6 separate regions of the Homo sapiens genome follow, and regions 2, 3, 4, 5 and 6 are each linked to region 1. Evidence: promoter capture Hi-C in 16 types of primary human blood cells and fetal thymus (Javierre and others, 2016). All regions are on one chromosome and are shown on one strand. The core of a region is centred on a gene start or on the middle of the fragment in contact, and the rest is flanking DNA. Distances in the headings are between cores, read along the strand shown. Region 1 holds the start of BRINP1 (BMP/retinoic acid inducible neural specific 1). Region 2 has its middle 62 kb from the start of ASTN2. Region 3 has its middle 78 kb from the start of ASTN2. Region 4 has its middle 97 kb from the start of TLR4. Region 5 has its middle 78 kb from the start of TLR4. Region 6 holds the start of TLR4 (toll like receptor 4).

Region 1 (4,795 bases), core at 1,027-3,526:
TGTTTGCTTTTATCTCTCCCCAGAATATGAACACATGTGTGTGTGTGTGTGTGTGTGTGATTGATATATATATATATATATATATCTTCCTAGAATATATGTGTACATTTTTTAGGCCAAATATATTTCTACTTTTTTCCCCTAAGAGGGCTTTTCAGCGGCCCCTCCGTGCTGAGCTAGACAAGAGGCTGTGTCCCAGCGTCACAGCCCTTGTCTTCTCCTAGCCTCCCTGCCTGAGAGCAGAACGGCTGCCGCTTACCTTGAGAAAGTAACAGCTGCCGAGTCTGGAAGCCATGCTAACAGCAGTAAAACTCAGCATTTTTGCTGAGTAGGGCAAGCCTTTAAGAGGCAGCTGGGAATCAAATCAATGGCTGGCCCCAGAGCCCAAGCCCAACAGTACCAAGCCAGGGTGGCCAAGGGACCTACCTAAAGAGCCTCCCAGGAGATGGAGGAAAGAAGAAAGAGGGCCTTGACCCAAACTACCTTCCTGGCTGAGATTCCTCCACCGCCCCCCTGCCCTTGGCAGTATTTTGGAGCCAAGTGAGAGACGCGAGGTGCAAACCGACAGCAGTTTAAGTCAATTACTGCCACATTCTGTCATGGGTTCCACACTCACAGCCCCTTTTCAAATTGTAGATCTCCCTCAGTACTGAAACACTCTCTCTCTCTGTCTCCCTCTCTCTCGCTCTTGCTCTCTCTCTCTCCCTCTCCACCTCTCTGCCTTCTCTCAATATCCCCCTAACTCCAGGGGAGCCATGGAGAGGCATATTTAGGGAGAGACTCTCTGGGGGCTTCCCCGCCTGAAATGGGGAAAGAAAGACGAATCTGTCTTAGGAAAGTGCCCCATCCATCTCCTTCCATATCATCCACAGCCGCCCCAGATGAAATTTCCTCTGAGACCCTTTGCAACTGTGATGGATGAGCAAGTCCCCGAGGACGCTTTCTCCTTTCCCCTGAGGGGGATCCATGCAAACTTGCCAGATCCTCCCCAAAACCAACAGAAGCCGGAGGGGCTCTGTTGATTGCAAACGGGGATGCAGGGTAAATCCCTATCCCAGACTTTCCAAGCCCCAGATAAGGAGCCCACCGCTGACTTCCCCCTTTCTCTGTCACCCACTATCCAGTGTCTCCAAATTCCCATCAGAATCTTGGAGTCTGCCCAGTGTAGAATTTAAAGTGACAGCGTCTCATTTGCCTCGGGGGTTGGCCATGTCTCTTTCATATTAAGCTGTGGGTCCCAGTGTAGCAGGATTCCACCGTTTGGAGGAATTTTCCTTCAAGCGTACCAACATTGGGCTAAATAAGGTGCCATCTACAGCCCCATAATCCTCCCCAAACCCCAAGCCCAGAGCCCCAAGAGGAAGTCCACAGCGGGTTTCCCGGTGACTACGTGATCCTATAGTAAGGGTCCCATTCCGTGTAAGCTGGAGAGACCTAATTAAAAAGACACACGAGGGCACACATACAAACACATACGTACAAACATGCACACACACATCGCGCCGTAAGTAGGTTATAGGACCTCTCTCTCTTCACCCCTCCCTTACACACACGGACACACACACACACCACGAACACACGCATCAAACGCAAACGACGCCGCACACGCAAACACACTAGCACCACATCAAGTTCCCACCATGGTGCACACGTCGGGAGCGCGCGGGGACACACACGCCACTCACTCAAACCCGCAATTAGCCCTTTGAGCCCCAGGCACAGGAACCCCCTCCCTAGAACTGGAGAAGACTTGGAGGCGGCGGGGCGGCCAGGTGAAGAGCGGACAAGGGTGCCGGTAGGGGGAGGGGCAGAGGAGCGCGGGGACGCCCCGAATGCGGCCCGGGGCCGGGTCCAAGGGCAGCGGGGCTGCGGGGCGCTGCACCCGGCGCCGCCTTACCTGGAGTCAATGTCCGTCTTTGGCGGAGAGCTGCGGGAGGACGCTTTTTATTCGGCTCGGTGGGAACTTGGGAGAGCCCTGCGTGCAGCTCGCATTCCGGGCACGGCGCGGGGACTGCAGGCGTGGGGGTACCTGGCTCCTAGCAGCCTGGCTCATACTCAGCCGTAAAGTCCCCTTCGCTGGTCCCGAGGACAGGCATGAATCCCGGCTCCGGAAGGCGGTCACTACTCCCTCTGCCTCCCGGCTCTCTCGCTCTCGCTCTCGCTGTTGCTCGCTCGCTCTCTCCCTCTCTCGCGGGTTCGCTCGCCTGCGCTCTCCTCCTCCCCGCGCGCCAGATCAGTTTGCAGCCGTGGGGTCCGGGAGCGAGGCGGCTGGCGAATGGAGAGGGAAGTCCAAGTGCGCCGCGGTCTCCGGGCGGGGAGCGGCGGAGGCCGGGCTACGCCGGGGGAGGGACTTAGCCGGCGACGGCCGAAAATGAATGGGGGAGCGGCGGCCGGGGGGCGGGGAGGGAGGAGCTGAACGCCGGGGTTGCTTCCGAGGAGTGTTTTGTACATCTTTAGGCGGAGGAGGAGGAGAAGCGAGAGGAGGAGAGACGGGAGGCCGCCTCGAGGGAAGGGCGGCCCGGGTGGGCTGGGGCTGAGCCGTAGGGAGTTTCGTGGGTCTGGGGCGTGTAGGGTGTTGTGTCTATGCGCACGAGCATCCAAAGGGACCGCGCATACGCGCAAACCCGGAATCCTGGTGCCCTTAAGCGTGACTGTACTGTGTGTGTCGCGAGTACCTGAGTGTTTCTGGGGCGGCAGGTGTTTCCACGGCCGCGTGGATCCATCGAGTGTGGGTTTTGTCTCGGGAGTTGCCCGTGTGGGTCCGTTTGTGTCTGCGCGTCTCTCTGTGAGTGTTTGACACTGTTTGTTTCTCTCGGTGTGTAGGCGAGAGCCCACGTAACCTCCCAGAATGAAGCAAGAGCTTCTCTACGTAGGCAGGATGTAGGAGGGAGAAGCTGAGGGGACACGAAGTTCTCTGGAGACCACCAGAGGCGGGGAAGGGGCGAGGGTACAGGGACTAAGACATGAAAATAAAAAGCAAAATACTCTGCAATCAGCCTGAATGCAGGCTGGGGCTGCTAACATAGGGCCTCTTCCTGAAGCAGAAAATAAAGCCCTCGTATGATAATTCCCACACAGCGCACATTTGGTATGTTTGTTTACTTTGCTTCCCTTCTGATTTAAACCAAATCAGCAATGCAGATCCCTAGTCCCCTGAAGATTAGGCAAGAATAGAAAGCATTAAGGCTACCAGATGGAGGGGCAGGAAGTCATAGGAAAAGGTGTTGGAATATGTAAAAGAGCCAGATTCAGTAGAAGTGCAGGCTCCAGAGAGGTTGGAGTCCTGTAGCTGTCTGGTCTTGGTGAAATCACTTACCCCTTAAGCCTCAATTCCTTGTCTGTTTAATAGAATAATAATATATCTACCCATCTAATAGGGTTGATGTGGAATTGTAATGAGTTAATATATGCAAAGGCACTTAGACTGCTCATGAGTTAATGTATGCAAAGGCACTTAGACTGCTCCCTGACACCTAGTGAGTGCTCAGTGCATGTTGTCTGCTTTTATGATTGCCATTGTATGTTTTTTGTTTGTTTTTTAATTCAAAGGATGATAAGAGAGAGATGTGACCACCAGGGAGGCCTAGAACAATCTAGGAGCCAGTGAACTAATTGGAGGAAGAGGAGTCTTGAAACAAAATGGAAGAGAAATGTTTGAGTGATGAACTGGGAACTCGGGAAAAATTATTTAATCGACAAAGAGAAAGGGAGAAAGAGAGGAGAAGACATCGAGCTAGCCAGAATGATCCTGGGTCTCAGAAGGTCAGGACTGAGGGGAGAGGAAAGGGAGAGGAGGAGCAGCCAGTGCAGAGCTTCTCAGCCTTCACTGGAATCCCAATGAGGAGGAGTCAGCACCACGGACAGCTCTCCAGCCACAAACCCAGTCAGCGATTTCTATTTTCGCCTGGTGGAAATTTCTCCCTTTTTTCTTGGGCAACTTTCTCTTTCCCTTGGCTTCTGGTCCAGGTTCAGGTCTTGAACACAGGTTCCCCAGGTCAGTTCTGACTTTGATTCTGACCACGAAGAAATACGCCCACCACACACACTCCTTCTCCCACCCACCGCGGTATGAAACCCCAGGTCACTATCTCTTGCCTCTCCTCCTTTCTTTCTTTTCTCTCTCTCTCTTTCTGTCTGTGCCCCATTCCTTCCTTTATTCGTCCCTATCTTTCTCTTTGTTTCCCCATCATCCCCCAGCTGAGATCTACTTCCATGACTGTTAGTAGGCAACAGCTGCCCTGCTGATAATGCAGTTCTGAAATCAATCTGAGACAACGTAGTCAGGCAACTTCAGGTGAAGACCAAAGTTCTGACTGATTCTTCTTAACCCTTTCCTTGTAATCAATCTCCCAAGATGGGTTGTGGTCTACATACCTTAGAAAGTGGGGACTTAATGCTTTGGAATACTGTCCAGTCTTTCTCTTCCTCACCCCACCCAGTCAATATTTCCCTAAAGAAAAAAAGAGCTCTTCTAGTTCCAACCAATACTACACAGAGAGAAAGAGGAGAGAGAATTTTGAACTTTTACCGTGCACCAAGCATTTTATTTGCAATGTTCTGAATATTATTGCTTACAGTTCTGAAAATACTTTGCAGTATGAATAGATAATACTATCCCATCTTTATGGCATAGGAAATTGAGTCTTGAAAAACTTGAGTATATGCCAAACTAGCTATATGCCAAAATATAGCTAGTAGGTGATGGAGTCAGGAATTCAACACCCAAGTCCAAGTCCAAAATCTTTATCCTCTGGGAATAATGGGGAAGCCCTGGGGTGATTGGAAGTTCTTGGAA
Region 2 (4,795 bases), core at 1,178-3,677, 1.9 Mb before region 1:
TAAAGAATACCTGAGACTGGGTAATTGATGCAGGAAAGAGGTTTAATTGACTCATGATTTCACATGACTGGGAAGCCTCAGGAAACTACAGTTGTGGAGAAGGCAAAGGGGAAGCAAGCACCTTCTTCACAGGGTGGCAGGAGAGATAGATTGTGCAGGGGAAACTGCCACTTTTAAACCATCAGATCTCATGAGAACTCCCTCACTATCACAAGAGTAGCATGGGGGAAGCCGCCCCCATGATCCAATCACCTCCCATCAGGCCCCTTCCTTGACACGTGGGGATTACGATTCGAGATGAGATTTGGGTGGGGACACAGGGCCAAACCATATCAACCTGTAAGCAGGTGAGAGATGTTGGCCTCCTTGCCCAGTATTGTACTTGATGGATCTCAGAAAGCACAAAGTCAGAAGAAAACTTTTTTTTTTCTGGAGATGGGGTCTTGCTCTGTTGCCCAGGCTGGAGTGCAGTGGTGCAATCTTGGCTCACTGCAACCTCCGCCTCCCAGGTTCAAGCAATTATCCTGCCTCAGCCTCCCTAGTAGCTGGGATTATAGGTGTGCACCTCCACACCCGGCTATTTTTTTTTCTTTCCTTTTTTTTTTTTTTTTTTGATATTTTTAGTAGAGATGGGATTTCACAGTGTTGGCCAGGCTGGTCTTGAACTCCTGACCTCAAGTGATCTGCCCACCTCAGCCTCCCAAAGTGCTAGGAATACAGGCATGAACCACCGTGCCCAGCCTGAAAACATACTTTGAATGAGTTCGGCATAATGGGAACAAGGCCTCCCAACTTGTCGAGAGAGGGTTCTCTCTCACACAAGTGGTGGTGTCTCTTTGGCCTTGTTTGTACCTGAACACTATTTGTAGTGAAGCTTCTTCCAGTGCCTCTGCCTGGAAGGTGCTTCCACTTTGGCTTCTGCCCTGAAACCTCTTCTATATGCTTCTGGTTTGGAGGACAGAATCTATGTGCTAAGGTCCCTAAAGGTATGCCTTCTTTCCTCTCTGGCATTTGTAAACATTTTTCCTTAATACATTCAATATTAGATACATTATTCTCAAAATGTGGACTCTACTGAAAGGCCAAGTGGTTGAAGTTTTCAGAGGCCTTGCAATGGTCTGCAACACAGAGAGCCCTACGACTGGCAGTCAGAAGACCTCGCATTTTACTCCTGGCTCTGCCAGGGGAATTTATGTTCATTGAACAATTCCTTATCTACTGAGAAGATAGAAATGCAGTAACAGAAGTGCTTGCAAGAATGAAGCATGGAATGAAGAGCTCAGAGCAGGCACTTGATCCATCCTGGAGTAAAGGATTGCAGACAGTGAAGACTTCCTGGAAGAGGTGTGATGAAGCTGAAAATGGAAAGTCAAAGTTAGCAGGTGAACAGGTAGAGGAATGGCATTCGGTAGAGGGAACAGCGTGTTGAAAGACACAGACTGGCAGTGAAAAGGCCTGGTGCATTCAGTAACCAAACATCATTGGGTGTGGCTGGAGCATAGGGAATCTCAAAATATGGTGAGGCTGGAGCATGAAGAATCTTGTATTTTAGGTAGAGGAGTGTGCCTTTCTTTTAACATCAATGAGGAGTCATCAGAGAGCATCAATTCATCGGGGAATAGGAAAGGTGAATACCAAAAAGGCCACTCTGTCGGCCTTTTAACTGCAGAAAAGAATTCTGCAGTTTGAAGGGCAGATTGCAAGGGGCAGGACAGACTGAAACTAGCCAGGACTAGTGCATACATAATACCAGTAGAGGACAGATGAGGCCTAATTTAATGAAGGAGTGGGAAAGAAGATGAAGTAAGAATTTCAGGGTACAACTTGCTTCTTGGGGTTCATTTGTAAAATGTAGGTGTCCCTGTGGTCTAGACCCTCCATCTTTTCACTACTAAGTCTTCCTTCTGTGACTTTTCTCTCCATAGATTCCCAGTATTTCAAGAGGTTATGTCTACCAACTTACATTTATTTGAGGATAATTAGTTTTCCAATAAGTACCAATTTTAGTTGATATAATTCCCACCAAAAGCAATTAAAGTCTGATTTTATTGGGGAGATATATGATTCCCGTTAGCATTTTTGAAATATTGAAAAGAGTTCATGGACTGCCATTATGCCTTCTGGACTCTTCTTGCCAGAGTGGGTGAAGCAGAGAGTTTGGAAACCACTCGATCTATTTATCCATAATAAGATTCACCTCTGATATTTGAAGTCTAGGAAATAACTCTCTTCAATAAGGACTGTGTAAGTTGCAAATCACAGTATGCAAATCATTAGTGTGAGGGACTGTTATAACTCATGATTATGAAAATTCTCCCAAAATAATAGACCTCAAACGCGTGATGTGGTAAGATGGGAGCTACTATCATTTAACATACGAGAAACTGGAGGCTCAAAGAGGTTGAACATTTGGTTTGAAAACAGCAAATAAGCAGAAATCGCAGCAACTGCTTTCCCTGCTTGACTTCCTTGGGCACCTGCTGATTTTAAAGAATGTTTGAAGTCATGATCTCCCCACCTTCCAACCTTCCCATTTAGCAGAAAATGATTCATTCCTTGGTGTAAGGGAGGAAGGAATCAAATACTGAGGCTAATAAGAGACACAAAGGGGCCACGTGTGGTGGCTCACGCCCATAATTCCAGCACTTTGGTAGACCGAGGCGAGTGGATCACCTGAGGTCAGGAGTTTGAGACCAGCCTGGCCAACATGGCGAAACCCCATCTCCACTAAAAATACAAAAATTTGCTGGGCGTGGTGGTGCACATCTGTAATCCCAGTTACTCAGGAGACTGAGGCAGGAGAATCACTTGAACCCAGCAAATAGAGGTTGCAGTGAGTCTAGATGGCACCACTGCACTCCACCCTGGGTGACAGAGCGAGACTCAGTCTCCAAGAAAAAAAAAATAAAAGACGCAAAGGGAGCAAAGGGCATTGTGGGAATTTATCAGTGGAATTAACCTCAGGGGTGGGGAATAGAGGAGATTGCCTGCACCCAATCCCAGGGTAAGTGAGGAGTTGGGAGATGCTGCAGAGCAAGATCATGCATGGTTAGGGAAGGAGTTTCGACATCATTCAATTCAGCACCCTTGGGGGTGGAGACTGAAGACACGATTACAAAACCAGTAAGTGGCTGGGGTGAAATTAAAGCCCTCTACAAATCTGAAGTGCTTATGGAAGGAATAAATGGATTCTGACCTTAAATATCAAGGTGTACTTACCTACAACTTGTTTGAAATGGAAAAAGCACATTGTAGGCTAATAGATTTAATATGATTCTATTTATATATTAAAGAAATAGCAACTATGCCCCAGTTCCCTTCCCTGTCATTTTGGGTAGAAATAAAACCTGTCTAATAGCATTGCTGTAGAGATTAAGTGAGTTAATACACATAAATTTTTAGAACCGTGCTTGGCATATAGTATTATGAAAATGTGTGTTCTCATATTTATTACTATACTTGTTAATACACCTGTGACTGCATAGGATAGATATGATGGTTTATACAGCTAAGAGTAAACAGTGGCTATTTGTCCGAAGAAGTGGAATAGAGAGATTTATAAAGGTCCTTTTGGCCATAATCATTTGTATATTTTATTTTCTATGCTCATAGTGTTAATTTTTTATTTCTTTTTAGTGAGACAATATTCATGTACTACATAGTAAAAAAAATTGGGCTAAGACTTTGATCATATAACAAATACTTCTGAAAATGCAAAACAAACAAATGATATATTTTCACTTATTGTTTACCTATCTGTTCTTCAGCCCACTTGTACCTATTTGCCTATTTTGTTCTAGGCACTGTTCAAGCACTAGAGATACAGCAATGAACAAAACAGACAAGCCACCCTTGCTTTCCTGTGAAAGGTGTAGACACGGGAATAAACAAGGAGAATATTTACTATATTAGTTGGAGGTTGGTTCTGTGGGGAAAATAAAGCCAGAAGGGAAACAGGAAGGACAAAAGGAAGTAGTGTTTGAAGCTTAAATCAGATGGACAGGAAAGGCCTTGCTGAAAGGAGCCATCTGAGTAAAGAAGTGAAGAGAGGCAGGGAGCTACACAATTATTCAGAAGAGCATTCTATGCATTATTTCATTTAATCCTCTCAATAATCTAACTATAACCCTGGGAGATAAGTATTATTAGTGTCCTCATGTGCAGATGGGGAAATTGAAAGACTCAACTTAGTGTTTTCCTAATGCAATAGTGGCTCTCTTTCTCCTATACCTATCTTCTAAAAACGACTTGTCACTGAGTGTAGGGCAGCTTCAGGCAGCTCAAAGGCTGCTCAAAAGCTGTGAGTCTGGGGAATGAGTCTTCTAGCACCCCTCTTGAACTACCCTGCAATGTTAGAAAGTGTCACAGCATTTCTCCTTCATCCTCCCTCTGCTTCCCTCCTCCTTTTCCTTTCCTGAGCTTAGGTGGGACACAAAGATGCAAGCAGAACACTGCAACCATTGCAAACCTTCACACCAGCCTCCCTCACTAACTTTGGCTCATCCAATGTTCTTCTAACACACCGAGAAAAGAGTGGGTAACAGTGTGGAGATGTGACAAGTACATAGAATTTGGAGACAAAAGACCAGGCATCTTGCCTTCTGCATGAACATGGCCAACCCTCTCTGAATCTTGATTTCCAAAAATTAAAAAGGACTCACAGGTTTATGTTGCAGATCAAATTAGAAGCAAAGATAACTTACTAACAATAATGCACTATATAGATATTTAGATAATAGTAGATGGGCTAATACATGTTCTATTTGTAGAAGTTTAAACTGAAGCTTTAGGTCTG
Region 3 (4,795 bases), core at 1,273-3,772, 1.9 Mb before region 1:
CTACTGGTGGAATGTACTGTCATCAAGATTTCTTGACTAAGAGTTGGTTTTACTAATTAACAGACTTGAATATGTTCATATATTTAACAAAACAAATAATTTTTTCTCTTTACTGGCCCTTTGCGTGAGGCTGGTCCATCTTTGCACCATATTATTGAAATTGAGCATAAACTATAAAACTAATTCTAGGTGGCTTCTCAAGTCTTCTCCCTCTACACCTTGACTGGGCTTCCTAGTCAACTCTCACATCTGCATTATTTCTTGATTCCAGCATCCACTAGTTTTTAATGAGGGTGGCCTCTGAGAACTGCAGCCAAAGCACCCCACAGGGAATGATATTCTGATCACATTTGTACAAAAGTGCTTTGGTTATTTCCCTGAGAACGCAATAAATAATCAGTTCTTAAGTGTTTCCAAAAGAATGGCATTTTACCTATCTGCATCACATAGCGGCCAAAGTCTATGGCTTTTACTTTAATCCACAATAGAGATTATCTGCACTTTAAGTCCTTGTTAGAGTATTTGATTGTGAATCGAATGAGAGTCAGCACTTCTCAGAGGCTCGTTTACCCTATCTGATGTTTGATAGAGAAAGTCTAATAGACATGCTAACTATCCATTCATCTCCAGTTTTTACCTGAAAGGCAATACCTGAGTCACATTATCTAAGTCCATAGCAGAAATGCTTTCCCTGAGCTACGACTTAATATTTTTCTCTTTGCCTTTATAGAGGGTTGATAGAAAAACTGCCCAGTAGAAAAAAGCATGTATTTTTTAGAAACTGCGAATAAAGATTACTTCCACTATTTAATGCAATGGACCTCAAATTCTCTATATATGTGATACAATCTTAAAATTAAATAATGGGTTGTACCATGAAGCTAAGTAAGGAGTGTGTGATCTATGTTCTACCGTGATGTCCATGCCCAAATAAAAATATATGGCAGAATCAATGACTGATGTGGGCTATGTCTGACATAAATAAAACAGAGAGACTTAGGACCTGGGAACAGGCCTGGGTCACAAGGTATTTGTTGGACAGAATGAGAACTCAGAGGTCACTAATGCTTATTTGCCTGTTTACCTTACTTATCACCAGGTATCAAGGGCGGGAGTCCAAAGAGCATTCTACAATAGCCGTCTGCAAACTGTGGCCTATGAGCTGGCTGCCTGTATTATAAACACAATGGGACATTACTGGAACACGGCTATAAATTCATTTGTTTATGTATTGTTTGTGGCTGTTTTCACACTTCAATGACAGAGTTGAGTAGGTGCTATAGTGATCTTATGGCCTGCAAACCTCAAATATTTGCTATTTGGCCCTTTAAGTTTAACCTCAGCATCATGCAATATACCATGTAACAAACCTGCATGTGTACTCTCGAATCCAAAATAAAAGTTGGAAAGATAAGTTTGTCATTTCCGTATTGAGCCAGAGTTAAAAGACTTTAGTTAGAATCAAAGTTTGTTTGTGTTTAATAGTCTCTGTACCATCTGAGACTCAGTACCTTCAGCTGTAAAGCAGGATTCATAGTTTTGTCTATATTATAGGTTTTTGCAAGAATAAGAAAATATATGTATAAATGACTAGCATGGTGCCATAAAGAGCCACCATGCTACTTTCAAGTGAAGCCTTAGGGACCAGGACAAATGACATTTACTCCAGGTCCGGATACAGATAGGACCTCTTCCAAACAAAAGCCAGTGTTTCACTTTCTTAGCAGGAATGCCACCCCGAGAAAAATTTTCTCCAAAAGCCATGGCTTAGAGGAAGATGACTTTCCTGCCAGGGAGAAAAGGGTACCAACCGTGCTTTCCCTGTCAGCCTCCTTATTGCACAGGAACTAGACAGAGATAATCTCAGGTAAGAAAGGCACAATGCATTTCTCCCAGGGCCTCATATGTCAGGCATGATTTTAATTTCAGATAACTTCCAAACCAGATAAGAATTCTGTTGGTAGTGTGAGCAGATCTCCTGGTGCTGCCTGTATCCATGGCCAGCACCCTCCTTCCCCTACTCCAGCTCTTAACTAGGGGGGAACTCAGTGAGATGTAATTGTATGCAACCCTGCCTTCCCCTCTTGCCCTCTGACACTGGATTCACTAATGAGCATCACCCCTTGTGACCCACGTTTTCTCTAGTCTCTGAGTTAGGCCATTGTTCTTCATCCCTATGAGCAACTGATGGCAGGGATTGGTTCCCCATTGTATCCCCAGTGCCTAGTACAAGTATGTCCAACCCACTTAAACTGTTCAAATGAACCCGGGCCATCCATTGACACAAATGCAGAGGACAGAACCACAGCATTCGGTATATTTCAGAGACCCAGTAAATTCAATTCAAATTGAATTGAATTAAATTGGGTTTGGCTCTTTCTGGGGTGGTGGTGGTGATGATGATGATGATAGCAGAAGTGGTGGTGGTGGAATGATGGCAGCTACAATGAAGAGATCAGGGCAAGGTTTGGAAAAAATTAAAATATTTTAAGCCAGGAGTTGGGTAAATGCTCGGAGTCTATCCTGCTGCTTGTATACCTGGATGGCTCTTCACTGAGGTGACTGTATACACAAGGGAAATGATACATACGGGAGACAAAGCTCTTCTTTATTAATAATTTAACCAACACCCAATAACCTGTAATGATGAATTTTGGTAAAAGCCTACTTGGAATATGAGGCTTAGACATCTAAGCTGGTCTACTTAATCCTTTTCTGTAAATGAAAAGAGGCTGCATCTGCAAAGTAGGTTGTAACCTGAGTTACTCAGTTGTAGGCACAAGTGAAACGATCTAGGTATACAGACTTGCTTATCTTTCTCCAAGGAGGCAAAATGTACCCAGATATGCTTACCCCATAAGAGCAGGAAGTAACCCTGCCCACTGGTGAACATGGCAAATTCAATCTCTTGGAGGAACGACCAATCAAACTAGCTGCTAAAGGGACGGGCGAAAATAGAAGCATAAGATGTAGTAGAAATTTTTCTTTAAGATTTATCATGCTAGAATTATTAGCTAAGCATTTACAATCATATTTTTTCTTTAATCCTTACAACAATCCTAGGAGATAAAATTATTCTCCAGGTGAGGAGTTAGGCTCAGAGTAATTAAGTGACTTGCCTGAGGTTACACAATAAATGGTTGAGCTAGATTTTCAATCCCATGTCTACCTGACTTCAAATCAATGTCCCTTCTACTACACGCTTGCTATTCAAAATGCAATTCATGGACCAGCTGCTCAACCTCACCTGAAAGCATTTTAGGAGTGCAAGTGCCTGAGGCCCACCCCAAACTTACTGAATCAGGATCTGCATTTCAACGATAGCTGCAGGTGAATTGTCAATATATGGAAGTTAGAGGAGCACTCTGATACACAACACTGCCTAGCTCTTACTACTCTCTTTTCCCAGAGAGCAAAACCACTCACTGTGGTCCCACCATCAGTAGAAGGCTGACCTGGATTTGGGAACATCCCCAAGTGGCTAAATTAATGCTACCTGCTGGGATGGTACCCTAAGGCCTGCTAAACCATGTCTGAGCTTTCTGAGGCCACTGGGCACTTTGCATTGACTGGTCAGTTGTCCTTACTGAAGCCAATGTCCCCAAGCCTTAACTTCCTTTACTGTTGTTTAATCTGAGGCCATGAAATCTTAGCAGATGTGGGGCAGTTTCTGTCCAAATATGTCAATGTGTGGCCACCCTTGGCCATCTGAGGAGTAAATAATTTGTTATATTTATCCTTGAGGAAGAATGTACTGAAATGTATATAGAATTCTATGGAAATGAAGTTCCAGGATAACCTAAAAAGAAAGATTATTGTGAATTTAGGGACATTTATTTTCCTTTTTCAGTTTTGATATAGTTTTCTTATGTCTGTATGTAATTTCCTATGGCAGATTAAGATCCATAATGTTCCAAGATACTGTGATTCATGCATAAGAGAGATTTGAAATGAAATTTTATTGTTGACACTTACTGCTCAGGCACTTGATATTCTCTCACTATATCTTCAAAACAAGACTATGAGGATAGGAGAATTAGCTCCATTTTATAAATGAAGACAGTAAGCTCTGTCTCTGGTCACACAAACAAAGCCAGTTTTCAAGTGTATGCTGGCACCATTTCCAAGCTACATTTGTTTGAATTGCATGTTATTGGTAAAGGATGCTTAGAAATAAATAAGACACAGGATCCTAAAATGACCATTCCACTTGGAGATTTGAGGTGGGGGAAATTAATTTAACATTAAAGCCTTTAAAAGGAAACATGGTTATATGAAGGAGTAGAAAGCCAATGCTGAAATTTTGAATGAATTTAAGACAAACAGAAGGCACAACAAAAACATGGAGATTATGGATGGTTAACTCTGCATTTGTGTCCTGAAGCCCCGGGGATTTGCTTTCACTTTTACTGTTATTACAGTAGCAACAGCAGATGCAGCAGGAGCAACAGTAGGAACTGTGCTGAAAGCTACTGTGTTACTTATCTATTGCTGCATAACAAATCACCCGAAATTCAGTGGCTTAAAACAATACATATTTATTATTTCACTGTTTCTGTGGGTCATGAATCAGGACGTGAATCCTATATTTGGCAAAACTGTCCTTTAAAAACTGAGGGAGAAATTAAAACATTCCCAGATAAAAGCAAAACTGAGGGAGCTTGTGACCACTAGCCTGTCTCACAAGAAATGCTCACGAGAGTCCTGCAGGTTGAAACAAAACAACACTAAACAGTAACTTGAAGCCATATTCGGAAATAAAGATTCTAATAAAGGTAAATGAAGCTAGTATTAT
Region 4 (4,795 bases), core at 1,085-3,584, 1.8 Mb before region 1:
CAAGTTCAGTGTTATTTTCTTCCACCTTACCTCTACGCAAACAAGCTGTACTTACATTTCTGCATAAATCAGAAAGCACTTTTACAAATATTGATTGAGTATCTGTTATGTGTCAAGCACTGTGGTAGGCACTTGGGAACAGACAAATATCCCTGCCCTTGTAGAGCTCCAGATCCAAGTTCAGGTCCGTTCCTCTCAGTCTGATAACTTGAATCGAAAAATGTTCTTGTTATAAAGTGTCTATTCAGGTATTCAGTTCTTAATGAAAACATGTGATTGAGTAAGTATCATCCTAGGTACTAGTTGTCAAAGACAGAATTGTATCAACTAATATTAAACATTCCTCATCCTTTGTCACTAACTAATCGAGGACTTCATTCATTTTCATTTCTTTCTTTCTTTATTATTTTCCTTCTACTTTAAAATCTAAAGCTTGAAGACCCTCTGTTTTCACATATTACCAACAAAAATAAGGCCCAAATAAAACATCTAACTTATAGTTGTTCAGGAGAAAACTAATAAAAACCAGACTGAGAGCTGGGAGGCCAGCCCCCTCACACCAGCTCTGTCATTTATGGTGTTCTTGTATTTTCCCTGGGTCTCAATTTCTTCCTCTGTAAAGCAAACTGTATATTTCTGTGCCCATTCTCTATCCTAACATGCTAAGATGCAATGAATTCCTGCAAGCGTTGAACGTGCCTGAGAGAAAACCTTTATAACTGCATGGTGGTTAGACATCGATGATGAGAGGAAAGTCACCCCTTCAATGAGTAGCTACCCTCTCTGGCTCTACAAGTTGAACAATTCTTAGATGAGTGGGAGTGTAGGAGGCAGGAAGGGCGAGAGGCAGGAAGAAAGCTCAGTTTCTCATCAGGAAAGGAGCAGTACAGATCATCGGGTTGAAGCAGTGAGCACAGAATGTCTGGCCATTTCTCTTCTGAAAAGGTCAGTGCCCCGCCAAACCAGGGCTGCAACATAGTGGCCTTTTAAAAAGCAGACAGCCAGAGAAGCTGCCACTGAGTTCATAAGTGTGGGGAAATGGATTCTTGTTATGTCAGAGCAGAAAGGGACTCAACTGCATCTAGTCCAATTCTGCCCTTCTATTTTACATGCAGGGACACTGAGGTATGGGGGTGGGGTTGGGAGAGGTGACCAAAGTCACAGAGCTTGCAGTCAGCATAGTTGTGACTAGAGTTTAGCATTCCAGAACATGCAAGGAATTCCTATTTTTGCTTAAATGAAAGCAAAATTCCCTATTGTTCTGTATATTGCCTCATTTAATAAAGTCTTTATTTTTTCCTCCATTTTTACTTGCTTGGTATCTCAGAATAAATAAAATGTGCTAACAATAGCTATCCATTTTTGACAGAGATGAGGGACCAAAATTGAAGGTGTGACTCATTAAACCTCTAGGCATGTTTTTAGAGTTATTTTGTAAATGATTAAATATTTATGAGAGTTGACAAAATTATATTTTGTTCTAATTTTTAATTTAAATATACTCTTCTCCATTCATGTCTTCTTTGCTGTCCACCTAGTCAAAGTTATCTCCTTAATGAAAATATTAAAAACCTCCCTCTTTGCTATAGCTAAAATACCTCATTTGATCCTCACAATAGTTATTGGCCACCACCCTATACAATGCCTCCTGGATTGATTTATAGTCCACTTCCCTCTCTGCTTGACAAACCCACCTCTGTTTATTAAAACAGTGTTATTGGTGAAAGCAATCCAGGCAGACCCACTTGCCTTTGTGCTTTGAGAACAAAGTGACACTTGGCAAATCATTAAACCTCCCTGTGCTCAGTTGGATCTTCTGAAAAATGGAGAGAGAGATAATCCCTTTTAGATTATTGAATGGTTAAATAAAAATAATACTCAATGTTTCTCTGCCTACTCTGCATAAAAAAAGCACTTCGCATATCTTATTTCATTCACTTATAATCATTCTTGTTATTACCTCCATGTTACAGCTGAGGACATAGAATGAGAGAAATCTCAAAATGGACGAGGTGATGTAGAATTTGAACACTCAAGCCTGTCTCGCTCATAGAACCACACCTTTCTAAGAACACCACATGGATTACTATGTAGCACTGATTCTTTTTTTTTAAATTATTATTATACTTTAAGTTTTAGGGTACATGTGCACAATGTGCAGGTTAGTTACATATGTATACATGTGCCATGCTGGTGTGCTGCACCCATTAACTCGTCATTTAGCTTTAGGTATATCTCCTAATGCTATCCCTCCCCCCTCCCCCCACTCCACAACAGTCACCAGAGTGTGATGTTCCCCTTCCTGTGTCCATGTGTTCTCATTGTTCAATTCCCATCTATGAGTGAGAACATGCGGTGTTTGGTTTTTTTTGTCCCTGCGATAGTTTACTGAGAATGATGATTTCCAATTTCATCCATGTCCCTACAAAGGACATGAACTCATCATTTTTTATGGTTGCATAGTATTCCATGGTGTATATGTGCCACATTTTCTTAATCCAGTCTATCATTGTTGGACATTTGGGTTGGCTCCAAGTCTTTGCTATTGTGAATAGTGCCGCAATAAACATACGTGTGCATGTGTCTTTATAGCAGCATGATTTATAGTCCTTTGGGTATATACCCAGTAATGGGATGGCTGGGTCAAATGGTATTTCTAGTTCTAGATCCCTGAGGAATCACCACACTGACTTCCACAATGGTTGAACTAGTTTACAGCCCCACCAACAGTGTAAAAGTGTTTCTATTTCTCCACATCCTCTCTAGCACCTGTTGTTTCCTGACTTTTTAATGATCACCATTCTAACTGGTGTGAGATGGTATCTCATTGTGGTTTTGATTTGCATTTCTCTGATGGCCAGTGTAGCACTGATTCTTAATCAGTGTGATTTTTTTAACCCCAGAAGGCATCTGGCAATGTCTAGAGACAATTTTAACTGTCACAACTTGAGATGGGCAGTGCTGGCTTCTATTAGGTAAAGACCAACGATCCCGAAAAGCATCCTATACTGTGCCAGGCAGTGCCCTCAAACAAAGAATTTCATGGCCCCAAATACCAATAATACCAAGGTTGAGAAACCCTGCTGTGTTTACTCCATTTTGTAAATTTAAGCATAATTCATTCTTGTAGATGGACATGATAGGGTGCATGCAAAGGGTTAAACACTCCATAAGCGTTGGCTATCATTATTACTACTGCTACCTCTAGACCCACTTCATATTTTGCCTTCTCTGATTTGGGGCCATCCCAGATACATGCTAGTTGGAAATATTTCTCTCATCTCTTTCAATAACCCTTAGCTTTTCCTACATTTGACACATTATTTATTATAGTTATTTATACACATCCTTTGCCTTTTTCAATACACTGACAGTTTCCTAAGGCAAACAGTTGTGTTTATTTTCTTTTGTATCTTCCCATGTACTAGTACAGTGCCTGTCCTGTCTTGATTGAATCTGATGAACTGAACAACCTTATGAGGAAAGGTGGGCAGAGATTATTATGTTTGTTAAATAGAGGAAACAGACTCAGAGTGCCCAAGTTGTTTAAAGCCCCATGACTTACAAATGATGAAGTTTGTACTAGATCTCACCTTGGAGTTCAGTACTAGCTTGTTTAGCTGCTGCTTATGTAACCAATTGCCAACCACCAGACTGTAACCCATTACTTTAGAGAGAAATTTCAAGAAGAAAAACTGACATGGAAGTTTGTTTCAATGTGTATTCAGTCCAGACAGACCTATTATGGAGTCCACAAAAAATAGCTGGAGAGAGAGTAACATGAAGGTCAATCTACTGTAGAAAACTCATAGTAAGGAAATCAGACACCTGAAGATGAGGACTGCATTTGAATTAGCTAGTTGTGGAGCACTAGAAACTCTATGGTACTTCTTTGCTCCTCACTTTCCTTGTTTGTAAAATGAGGACATAATGACTACTCAAACAAACCCACAAGTTTGTTGTGAGGAAATGTATGTCAAGTACACTTAATCCTTGTTATTCACAGTAACTGTGTTCTATAAAGCTGTTGCAAGCATTGAGTTAGCAGACATTGAACCAGTGCTCCTAAGGGAAATACAGGGTTAGGTTCCTGCAAGCCTCTAGTCACAACATTTTTATCAACCAATCAATATATAACCTTGTTTTATGTGTATTTTTGTTTAAAGATATTTAATATACATTGTTAATTCATTAACATTGAACTCATGGCCAATGCCACTATAACTTAGGTATGAACAAAGCTTATCTAGTATTCAAATTTTATCTGCAGAGCACATCACAGCTTTCTTAGAAACAGTAGACAGCACTTCAGCACTGTGCCTGCAAATAAATAGCAAAATCACCAACAAAACCCACAAAAATGCAAAAACCATGACACTAAATATGCTGCAAAAATGACACAAGTTTACTGGATGAGAGTGCAACAAGAATGTTGAGTATAACCTTGTTGAAGCCTAGCTGGGAACATGCCCATCACACTACTCATAGGTCTGCCACTCTGCACATATCTGTGAATGATCACAAAAAAGGTGCTAGTATTGATTTAGGGGTTACAAATAAATTTCAGCAAGTAGAAGAATTTGCAAATACAGAATTCATGAGCAATGAGTATTGACTGTAGGTAAGTTTTTAAAAATTGGGGTGTCAATAAGACAAAGGATGAAAGGTCATTCAAAAGAGAAGGTAAAAATGGCCAATGAGCATATGAAAAAATGTTCAACATTACTGCTCATCAAGGAAATGACAATTAAAACCAAAACGCAATACTACTACACATCTACCAGAATGGCCAAAA
Region 5 (4,795 bases), core at 1,698-4,197, 1.7 Mb before region 1:
TTTGACAAATGCAACACTTTTTTATGATGAATACACTCAATAAACTAGGAGAGGTGAAAGGCCATCCACGAAATGCAAGTGAAACTTCCTTCACATGGAGGAAATGGGGAAGATACCTCCTCCCTAAAAATTAAAAAAATGTGTAAATTTGGTCAATCAGCTGGATATTCTGATGCCTACTGAGTAGGAATGGCAACTGTTATGACTGAGAAGAATGGAAGGAAAATTTTTGAAGCAGATCCGCATAGGTTGTGTGGCATAACAGAGTTATACAGATCTTGGATTGAAAAATGGCCTTATGGCTTATCAGCTGTATGATTTAGGGGCATCTTAAACTCTGTGAGATTCAGTTTGGTCACTGGTAAAATGAATATAATAATATTTCCCACAGTTATTACAGAATCAGGGTTAATATTTGTAAAGAGTCTAGTGCATGTCAGGCTCAGACTAAGAACTTTGTAATGGTAGTTTCACTATTGTCAATAGTTGTGGAGGGCAGGGTGGTAGGATGGGAGGGGTAGTCAAGTTGGCTAAAGGGACATCCACTTAAAAAACCTAGTGGGACAACAATTAAAAGAGAAGAAGGATCTCTCTGGCTTATTCTTATGGCAATTTTTGCAATCCTGGGTAAATCATAAATTTGATTCTGGCTTTCACTTTCCTCATCTGTAAAATGGAACAAGTGAGTTAAAAGATCTTTGGAATCTCTCTTATCTCTAAAATTCAGTGACTCCATGAAGTAGAAGATGGCACAGAATGGAGGTGGGAGAATGTCAAGTGCGACCTTTTCAGTATACTTGTAGAACGTGTTTGAATACAAGCTCCAGTTTGCTTCCACCAAAGCTAACAAGAAGAAAGAACATCAACACAATGACACACTTCTTTTTGGCTCTAAAAGGCTTCCAGATTGTGTCTAATTTTAAACCACTTTCTGGAGACCAAAGAGATGCCTGAGGACAGCTTGACAATAAATCTTTCAGCACACATAACTCTTCTCTTTGTCATTTCAGTATGAGGAACATGAGCATTTCAAGTGTCCTCCTCCAGAGTTGTCAATCTGGCACCTGTCACTGGCCTCTGATTATGAAAGTATTTAATTTTTCCAAGACAAATTGGCAGAATGTCCAAAGAGAGGGAAGAAATGACACAGGGGAGATGGAAAATGCTGATTTGTGGGGAAGGCTTCTGCATGGCTCAGAATCCAATAAACATTCTCAAAAGGAAGTCAAATCCAGTGGTTTCCTTCATATCAGTATCAGTAGCGTCACTGTGGACAAATTCAGTAATCATGTTAATAACCCATTGAATGTCCTAGCCTCACAGTGCTCTAAGATTGTCTCCTGTAAGGACCTGTATTTTCACAAATTCTCTGTAGGCTCCCACATTCAAAGTCACAGTTAAGAAATGGGTCACCTTATAGAAGTTTCAAGATTCTGCTTTCAAGATTTCAAACTCAGAAAGCCTTCTTTATAATCACAACCTTAAAAGAACTTTGATAGCTTCCCACACCTATAGGATGATGTTCAAACCCTTATACTCAGAGATCAATTGTCATTTGTCTTCAACCTATTTTCCCTGCATTGAGACATTTCCATCACTCTGAACTAATCATGACTCCTGGCTGTATGTTCACCTTGTTCCGGAATCTCTTGTCTTAATATCTCTACTTCAGAGTTTCTCAACCTTAAAAGTAATTGAATTTTGGGTAAGGTCATTCTTTGTTGTGGGAGTTGCTTATAGATGGTAAAACCTTTTGAAGCCTCCCTGGTCTCACTAGATACTAATAGCACACCTCAAATTGTGACAACAAAAAGTATCCCCTGGGAGGTAAAAATACTACTAATTCTTATTCATTCTATATAATTATATTTTTGTACCCACTGGATGACACAGTCAATAATAATTAATTGTACATTTTAAAATAACTAAAAGAGTATAATTGAAACATTTGTAATACAAAGAACGGATAAATGCTTGAGGTGATGGATACCTCCTTTACTCTGATGTGATTATTATACATTGTATGCTTGTATCAAAAGATCCCATGTACCTCATGAACATAGGCACCCATATGTACCCATAAAAGTCTTTTAAAAATGCCCCTGATTGAGAGCCACTGCTTTACCTGAAAAACTTCTAATCCGCCTTTAACTCAATTCAAATGTCACTTCTTCTGTAGAGTCTTTTCCAACTTCTTTAGGAAAACCAATACATTTCCATTCGTGACTTTATTATAATTATGGTCAGGAATATTACATTGTAGTTATTTGTAGTTTATCTTCTCAACCAGACTGAGCTTTACTCGGAGAAGAGCTTTGTCATATTCTTAATCGTATTCTCATCCCTCACTATAGTTTCTGGAGCTGTAACCATGGCTGGTGATCAAGCTCTGTTAATTTATCAGATATTTTTATCATTCCTATGAATTAGAAAGATCAAATATTATTTATTATTTTCAGAATGTGGATAATGTTTCCTTTAGGCAGATGCACTTCCAATTGTAAGTAATAGGAATATAGCTCAAACTGGCCTGGGGAAAGCAATATATATAAAATGGCTCATGTACTTAGAAAAAAAATCCAGATTTGGACTTCAGGCATAGCTGAATCCAGATGAATAGATCCTGAGTAGGGAACACATAATAACTGCAGATTAGAAGTAAACTAATCTGCAGTAAACTTGTACATTAGGTAAAGAAACTGTACTGTAGTAAACTAGTACAGAAGGTAAAAAAATTTCAGTGAACTAACCTAAACCACAGAGTCAGGCCAAGGGTTGAGAATGGGAGTAAATGATAACATGGATTTTATTCATTTGCTTAAGCGTTGATTCTCCTAATGTTTCTGTAAGTAGAGACAATGATTTATTTGAGATAAGAACTCAAGTGATGGGCATGGATCCACACTATTTTTTTTTACATAGCATAGAAGTGTACTCATGGTTCATTGACTAACATAACCAGAGCAAGTGATATGCTTCCCAGGTCAAAGGAAACTAAAACTGAAGGATATTATAGTTCTAGCTACATCAGTTCCCAGGAATAACTTAATTTAGGCAATAAATCTGCCATTCCTTGACCCATGTCACCCAAACTTAATGTCTGGGTTTTGGGGCTTGAACTATTTTCTGTGCCATCAGCAAGTCATTACCCCTTTAACTTTGCCTGCATGGTAGGCCTAAGAATTTTTAATGTATGCTCTCTTAGCATCTGTTATTGTTGCTGTTGTTGATTTTTGAGTGGAAGTCTAGCCACAGTTCACACAACAGAATATCTGGTACTTGAAACTAGCTCCTTTGACACATAAGTAATATGTTTTCTTTATCAGTATAGTATGAATCAAAAGCTGATAAACTTCATGACAAAAGAATACCACAGATTGGGCAGGTAGGTGAATTTTCTTAGACACAGATCAACCAGGGATCTTCACAAGATCTAAGAGGGGTTGCAATTTGGAGATACCATTGCAGGCAGCTTTTGTTCAAAAGAAGACTTTCCTTAAAGCCACAAGGTACAAATCTCTGAGCTGAAATAACATGTAGAGTAGAAAGCACCAGACTAGCAGGGCGACAACCTGGACTTTATCTACTTTGGTGAGACCTTGTTCAAGTCACAGAATTACAGAATATCAACTAGAAGGAAATTTAACCATAAGTTGCAAGCCTCTTATTTTTGATGGTGTGGGTGTTGGTTCACAGAGACAAAGGGGCTAAGTCAAAACTGTAGATTGGTAAAATCAGGATTAAAACCAAGATCTGTTAACTCTGCAGTTGCCTACTAATATCTCCTTTGATGTCCATAATGTTCCCGTTATACAGATATTATTATTTTCTCTGTTTAAGAATAAAATCATCTGTATCCAAAGAGACTTCACCTTGGGGTCCTTAAGTAAATATAAGGATTGAAATTACATCCCTGGAACTAGTGTTTCAATTATAAGCTCAGAATGATTTTTAACACTATCTGTGAAATAATGTGCTGAAAACTAAGGGGTCTTCCTGTTTTATTACTGCTAACCATTGCCTCTGCCACATAAACCCTTCCTTGGAAACCATAGCATGTGCCATAGTGAGCTTACTTGAAAGTAGTCTCCTAAGAGAGTCAAAACAGCTGCATCCTGAAGAAATAGCCTTTTGAGAAGGCAAAGAACAATCAAATAATAAGGAGATGGTATGAATTCACTGGTGTGCTTACTCCTTTAGTTGCATTATTATAGTATGATTAGACATACTTTGATTAGACTTTGTCTTACTTTACAAATGAAAGAAAAAAACAGACTCAGAAACCTAGCATGATCAGATCAAGCTCACCCAGTGATTAAGTAGAGATGCAAATCTTATGTGATGCCCAATCTGCCCCTCACCATGCCATTCAAAAAGCAGAGTAGAAACAAAGATAAACTGATGTATTCACCTACTAAAATTAAGATTAAATGTTTACAGTTCTCTAGCCTCAGCTTTCTCAATATTCCACATGAAGCTGAAATCACACTTGGGCCCAGTTCATAGAATTATACTCATCTTTCTTCCCTGGGATCTAAGTGTGTTCCCTCCAAATGGAATGAAAGAGATTCTTCATCTCTATCTCAGGTTCAGGTAACACAGGCTTGCCCTCTCTCATCTCCCAGAAATATGAGCCTACTGATAACTCCTTGGCTTTTAAAAATTTCACATTTTATAAGAGTTTTAGGGAAGATTTGAAGAATTTTTTAAACATCTGAAAATAAAATAAAAGTTTGACAATGACTAAATTGAAGGCATTTATAATGTGTCACAAAACAGAAATGGTTTAAGAAAG
Region 6 (4,795 bases), core at 1,375-3,874, 1.7 Mb before region 1:
CAAGGCAAGGCAGGGTAAGCAGGGATAGGACTGGCTAGTTTGAATAACCTCAGTGGGCTCTGGGGTAGAGGGTCTGTCTCTAGTTGTCTGGTACCTGGACCTGTGATGATTAGGGCTGAATAACGGTGTCTACTTGGGTGTAAAAGCCAGGTAGAGGAGGTGGTTCAGAGGAAGGGCTCTGGATTGCTTAGTGTGCATAAGGCATGCTCCAGAGCAAATCTTTTGCTATTTTTTAGAACTAACTAGCCCTGGTAAGTGCAGTCTCTTCCCAGATGCCAGAACATCAAGAACACAGAAAAGAAGACAATTGGGTTAATACATGTTTAGCATGAGAAATGAGGAAGTAAGGGAAATAAAGTCAAAGAGATTTCCACCTTGGATGACTATGTCAAAGTGAAACACCATTAACTTTCCAGGGAACTAAACTTTATTGAGCACCTACTCTGTGTCAGGCACTGCTCTAAAATCTTTACATGAATAATCTCAATACTCAGAGCAAAGCTTTGACATGGAGGTTGTTTTTATCTTAACTCTACTGGTGTGTTGATGGAGTCTACAAGAGTTTGTGCCCAGTCCACCACAAAATGGTCCCTCACAGCTTGGTTTTTGACACGTTGGATTGGAAGTGCTTGGAGGATATTACAGTAGAACTATCTAGGACTTAGCATGCATAATATTCCTGTTTTAAATCAGGTTCTTATTTAACAGAAACTTACATTGCACTTGCTACTTTCCAGACACTGTCCTAAAAGCTTTACAAATGCCAGTTCATTTAATCCCAATACAATACTTTGAGATACATATTATCATCTTCATTCTATCCACATTTTCAATCCTCATCATAGCTCTCATTTATGGAATGTAATGATGATGCTCTAGACTAGACGTTTTACGTAAGTTAGCTTAATTCAGTAATTCAAAACACATGCGATTATCTTCGTTTTAAAGACCAGAAAACTAAAGGTTGGTAGGTTTGTATAATTTGACTACCATTGCGTATCTTTATTTTAATACATTTTATAAATGCAAGCTTCTGCTATGATTAAAAGTGATTACCACATTTTACAGACCAGAAAGTAATAATAAGTGTTGGTGAAGATGTGAAAAAATGAGAACTCCTGTACACCATTTGTGGGAATGTAAAATGGTACAGATGCTGTGGAGAATCATATGGTGGGTGCTCAAAAAATTAAAAATAGATTTACCACATGATCCAGCAATCTCACTTCTGAGTACGTATCCAAAAGAATTGAAAACAGAGACTTTAAGAGATATTTGTACAACCATGTTTATGGCAGCATTATTCACAATAGCTAACGTGTGGCAACAATGCAAGTGTCCATGAACAGACAAATGGATAAGCAAAATGTGGTCTATACATACAATGGAATATTGTTCAGCTTTAAAAAGGAAGGAGGCTTTGATCTATACTACACAGAAAAGAACCTTGAGGACATTATGCAAAGTGAAATAAGCCAGTGACAAAAAGATACATACTGTATGATTCCACTTCTAAGAGCTGCCTAGAGTAGTCAAGATTATAGAGACAAAAGTAGTGCATAGATTCAAGGGCCTAGGGAAAGGGGAAATGGGGAGTTATTTATTAATGAATAGTGGTGATGATTGTACAAAAATATGAACATAATTAATGCCACTAAATTGTACACATACAAATGGTCAAGATAATAAATTTTATGTTATGTCATGTTATGTTATGTGATTTTACCATAATACAGAAAATGAAAAAAGAAAAGAAAGAAAGTAAAGCTTAGCGGTTTACATGACTTGACCAATGCCTCAAAGCCATGAGTCACCCAGCTGAGATCTGAACTTCAGTATATTCCATTCTGAAATCCCAGACTTTTCCCAATCTTCTTGTACTTTTCAAACTGTGTTTCAGTTGAGGTTTATTTTCAGTTTTGTATGTGAGTTTCTTCACAAGAAGGGGCGGGCCAAATTGTGTCCTGCAAAAACCTACATATCGAAGTCCTAACCCCTCTACCTCAGACTATGACTGTATATGGAGAGAGAGCCTTGAAAGAGGTATGTAAGGTAGAATGAGGTCATTATGGTGGGCCCTAATCCAACATAACTGGTGTCCTTATAAGAAGGGGAGATTAGAATTCAGACACACTTGCTGACACCTTGAGTTCAGACTGGAAGCCTCTAGAATTGTGAGAAAATGAATGTCTGTTGTTTAAGCCACCCAGTCTGTGGTATTTCCTTATGGCAGCCCCAGCAAACTAATACAAATAGTGTTTCCACAGCTGAAACAAAATTGGAAAATCACCGTCATCCTAGAGAGTTACAAGGGCTATTTTAATAGAACCTGATTGTTTTCCTAAATTCACCAAGCCCAGGCAGAGGTCAGATGACTAATTGGGATAAAAGCCAACTAGCTTCCTCTTGCTGTTTCTTTAGCCACTGGTCTGCAGGCGTTTTCTTCTTCTAACTTCCTCTCCTGTGACAAAAGAGATAACTATTAGAGAAACAAAAGTCCAGAATGCTAAGGTTGCCGCTTTCACTTCCTCTCACCCTTTAGCCCAGAACTGCTTTGAATACACCAATTGCTGTGGGGCGGCTCGAGGAAGAGAAGACACCAGTGCCTCAGAAACTGCTCGGTCAGACGGTGATAGCGAGCCACGCATTCACAGGGCCACTGCTGCTCACAGAAGCAGTGAGGATGATGCCAGGATGATGTCTGCCTCGCGCCTGGCTGGGACTCTGATCCCAGCCATGGCCTTCCTCTCCTGCGTGAGACCAGAAAGCTGGGAGCCCTGCGTGGAGGTATGTGGCTGGAGTCAGCTCCTCTGAACTTTCCCTCACTTCTGCCCAGAACTTCTCACTGTGTGCCCTGGTTTGTTTATTTTTGCAAAAAAAAAAAAGAGTTAAATTACCTTAAAGACTCAAGAAGCCACAGAGATCAAATAATTCATTGTTACAGGGCACTAGAGGCAGCCATTGGGGGTTTGTTCCATTTGGAAATTTTGAGTGCTAACAGGGGCATGAGATAACATAGATCTGCTTAAGGTCCCTGCTCTGCTACCTTGTGGCTCTGTGAAGAAATTATCAAACCTGTCTGAGACTAGTTTTCGCATCTGTAAGAGAATTATAATACCTTCTTCACTAGAGAGTAAGCAGACTGCTTCAGTGTCATTTCTTCCCACTGGTGGTCTTTACACTCAGCTTCAAGCAGTCACCCTGCTCCTTTCAATCTCAGGAAAAAGATGGCTTTTGTGTGTGTGTCTCTAGAGAAAGAACTTTCTAAGTGGGTGTCAGACTTCTGTATGCAGTAATATAGTTTAGTCCAGAGGATGAAAAAAATAAGAGAATGAAAAAGGAAAAGAGAGAGAGAGAGAAGAAAAAAGCAAGAGGGAAATATGTATAATGTCAGCTAATGCAACAGTTTCTTTCTTAGTGAAATACCAATCAGCTGGTTGGTAATCTTATTCATGATGGATCTCTTTTGTTTTTCCCCTGCGCAGACTTCACAGTTGCTTTAGAAACCCATAGTAGAGCCGAACAGCTAAGAAAATGATTTACAGTGAGGCAGGGTCAGAAACTCAAGAGAGAAAAAGCCAGCTGCAGTCCTGAAGTTGAGGATATAGGAGAAAATCAAGTAATATTTAGCAAAGACTAATTCATTATCTTGAAGCCATCCCTTCCCTCAATTCCCTGCCCATAGTCCTCCTCCTTGTCCTCTTCTCTGTATCCCTCTGCTGTTAGGTTAATGGAGATAGATTTTCTAATTAGGCTCACTGCGAGATAAAACCACAGCCAAACTTGACTTCTTTTCCCCATGTACCTTTTCCTGTCAGTCCCTGAAGCCTGTCCATCCCTGCCCATCCCCTTAGTTCCACTGTAAGGCAGGCCCTCATTTCCCCTGGCATTGACTCTTACACACTAACTGCTTTCCTGATTCCAGTCTTCTTCCTTTAATTCATTCTGCACGTTCTTGTTTGTTATGTACTTGCATTTGTTGTTATTATTTTTCCTTAGGCTTCAATCTAACAAATTACTCTCCTTAAAAACTTTTAATAACTCTCCATTGCCATTAGAACAGCTTTCTACCACAGGGCCTTTGCACTGGCTATTTCTTCTACCTAGAATGCTAGATCAGTGCTATCCATTGGCAATATTATGTGAGCCACATATGTACTTTTAAAGTTTTTAGTAGCCTCATTAAAAAAAGAAACAAGTGAATTTAATTTCGATAATAGTTTTATTTAACTTAGCGTATTTAAAATAATGTTTAAAATTTTAATATATATTTACCTATTATTGATATTTTTACATTCCTTGTTTGGTACTAAGTCTGGAATTTAGTATATGTTTTACATTTACCACACTTCTCAATTTACACTATTCACATTTCTTGTGTTTGATAACTGTGTATGGCTAGTGACTACCGTATTGGTCAGTGCAGCCCAAGTCCTTTTCATGCTTTAATCACTCCATTCAGATCTCTGATTAAATGTCCCCTCCTCAGGGCAGTCTTCCTTGATTGCCCCATGTAGAGCTCTCCAGCCTCACTTATTTGCCTCAAATCCCCTTATACTGCTTAATATTTTTTTTTCTAGAGCACAACATTTTATATTTTTGTTTGTTTATTTTCTCTCTCTCCCTTTGTAATGGAATCGGTAAGGAGGCAGGATCATTGCTGGTTTTATTTACCACTATATTTCCAGTGGCCAGCACACAGTAGCCGCTAGATGTGTAAGTGATAAATGATTGAAATAATTGCTGCAGGACAAAGTCTGAGGCCCTCCTGATCTGGCTTGCCCTCTTACTTAGA

Evidence for each region. Contacts are between HindIII fragments. The CHiCAGO score rates a contact against its expected background, and 5 or more counts as called.
Region 2: a contact is called between a fragment that was not itself captured here and the fragment with the promoter of BRINP1 in region 1, in 3 of 17 cell types (M1 macrophages, M2 macrophages and M0 macrophages). The highest score is 7.0, in M1 macrophages.
Region 3: a contact is called between a fragment that was not itself captured here and the fragment with the promoter of BRINP1 in region 1, in 4 of 17 cell types (M2 macrophages, M0 macrophages, M1 macrophages and 1 more). The highest score is 15.9, in M2 macrophages.
Region 4: a fragment that was not itself captured here is called in contact with the fragment with the promoter of BRINP1 in region 1 in 4 of 17 cell types (total B cells, M1 macrophages, M2 macrophages and 1 more); the score reaches 8.2 in total B cells.
Region 5: a fragment that was not itself captured here is called in contact with the fragment with the promoter of BRINP1 in region 1 in 4 of 17 cell types (M2 macrophages, M1 macrophages, erythroblasts and 1 more); the score reaches 11.4 in M2 macrophages.
Region 6: the fragment with the promoter of TLR4 here is called in contact with the fragment with the promoter of BRINP1 in region 1 in 4 of 17 cell types (M1 macrophages, M2 macrophages, endothelial precursors and 1 more); the score reaches 11.3 in M1 macrophages.

What each region holds. Positions count from the first base shown.
Region 1 is chr9:119,367,159-119,371,953 of GRCh38, forward strand. BRINP1 (BMP/retinoic acid inducible neural specific 1) reads right to left here and starts at 2,277. Exons shown (of 8, transcript NM_014618.3): 1 at 1,898-2,277. RefSeq lists enhancers at 1,676-2,197, 2,198-2,720, 2,721-3,241. The HindIII fragment of the contact is 7,485 bases long and covers 1-4,795 here.
Region 2 is chr9:117,474,342-117,479,136 of GRCh38, forward strand. No RefSeq gene overlaps it. Among named protein-coding and RNA genes, the nearest start is that of ASTN2, 62 kb to the left of the region's middle. The HindIII fragment of the contact is 3,111 bases long and covers 873-3,983 here.
Region 3 is chr9:117,490,499-117,495,293 of GRCh38, forward strand. No RefSeq gene overlaps it. Among named protein-coding and RNA genes, the nearest start is that of ASTN2, 78 kb to the left of the region's middle. The HindIII fragment of the contact is 5,715 bases long and covers 1-4,795 here.
Region 4 is chr9:117,604,823-117,609,617 of GRCh38, forward strand. No RefSeq gene overlaps it. Among named protein-coding and RNA genes, the nearest start is that of TLR4, 97 kb to the right of the region's middle. The HindIII fragment of the contact is 3,809 bases long and covers 431-4,239 here.
Region 5 is chr9:117,624,364-117,629,158 of GRCh38, forward strand. No RefSeq gene overlaps it. Among named protein-coding and RNA genes, the nearest start is that of TLR4, 78 kb to the right of the region's middle. The HindIII fragment of the contact is 7,902 bases long and covers 1-4,795 here.
Region 6 is chr9:117,701,779-117,706,573 of GRCh38, forward strand. It overlaps TLR4 (toll like receptor 4), which reads left to right and starts at 2,625. Exons shown (of 3, transcript NM_138554.5): 1 at 2,625-2,787. The coding sequence starts at 2,695. RefSeq lists enhancers at 2,047-3,246, 2,194-2,694, 2,595-2,644, 2,655-2,724, 2,695-3,195 and 1 more. The HindIII fragment of the contact is 5,259 bases long and covers 1,766-4,795 here.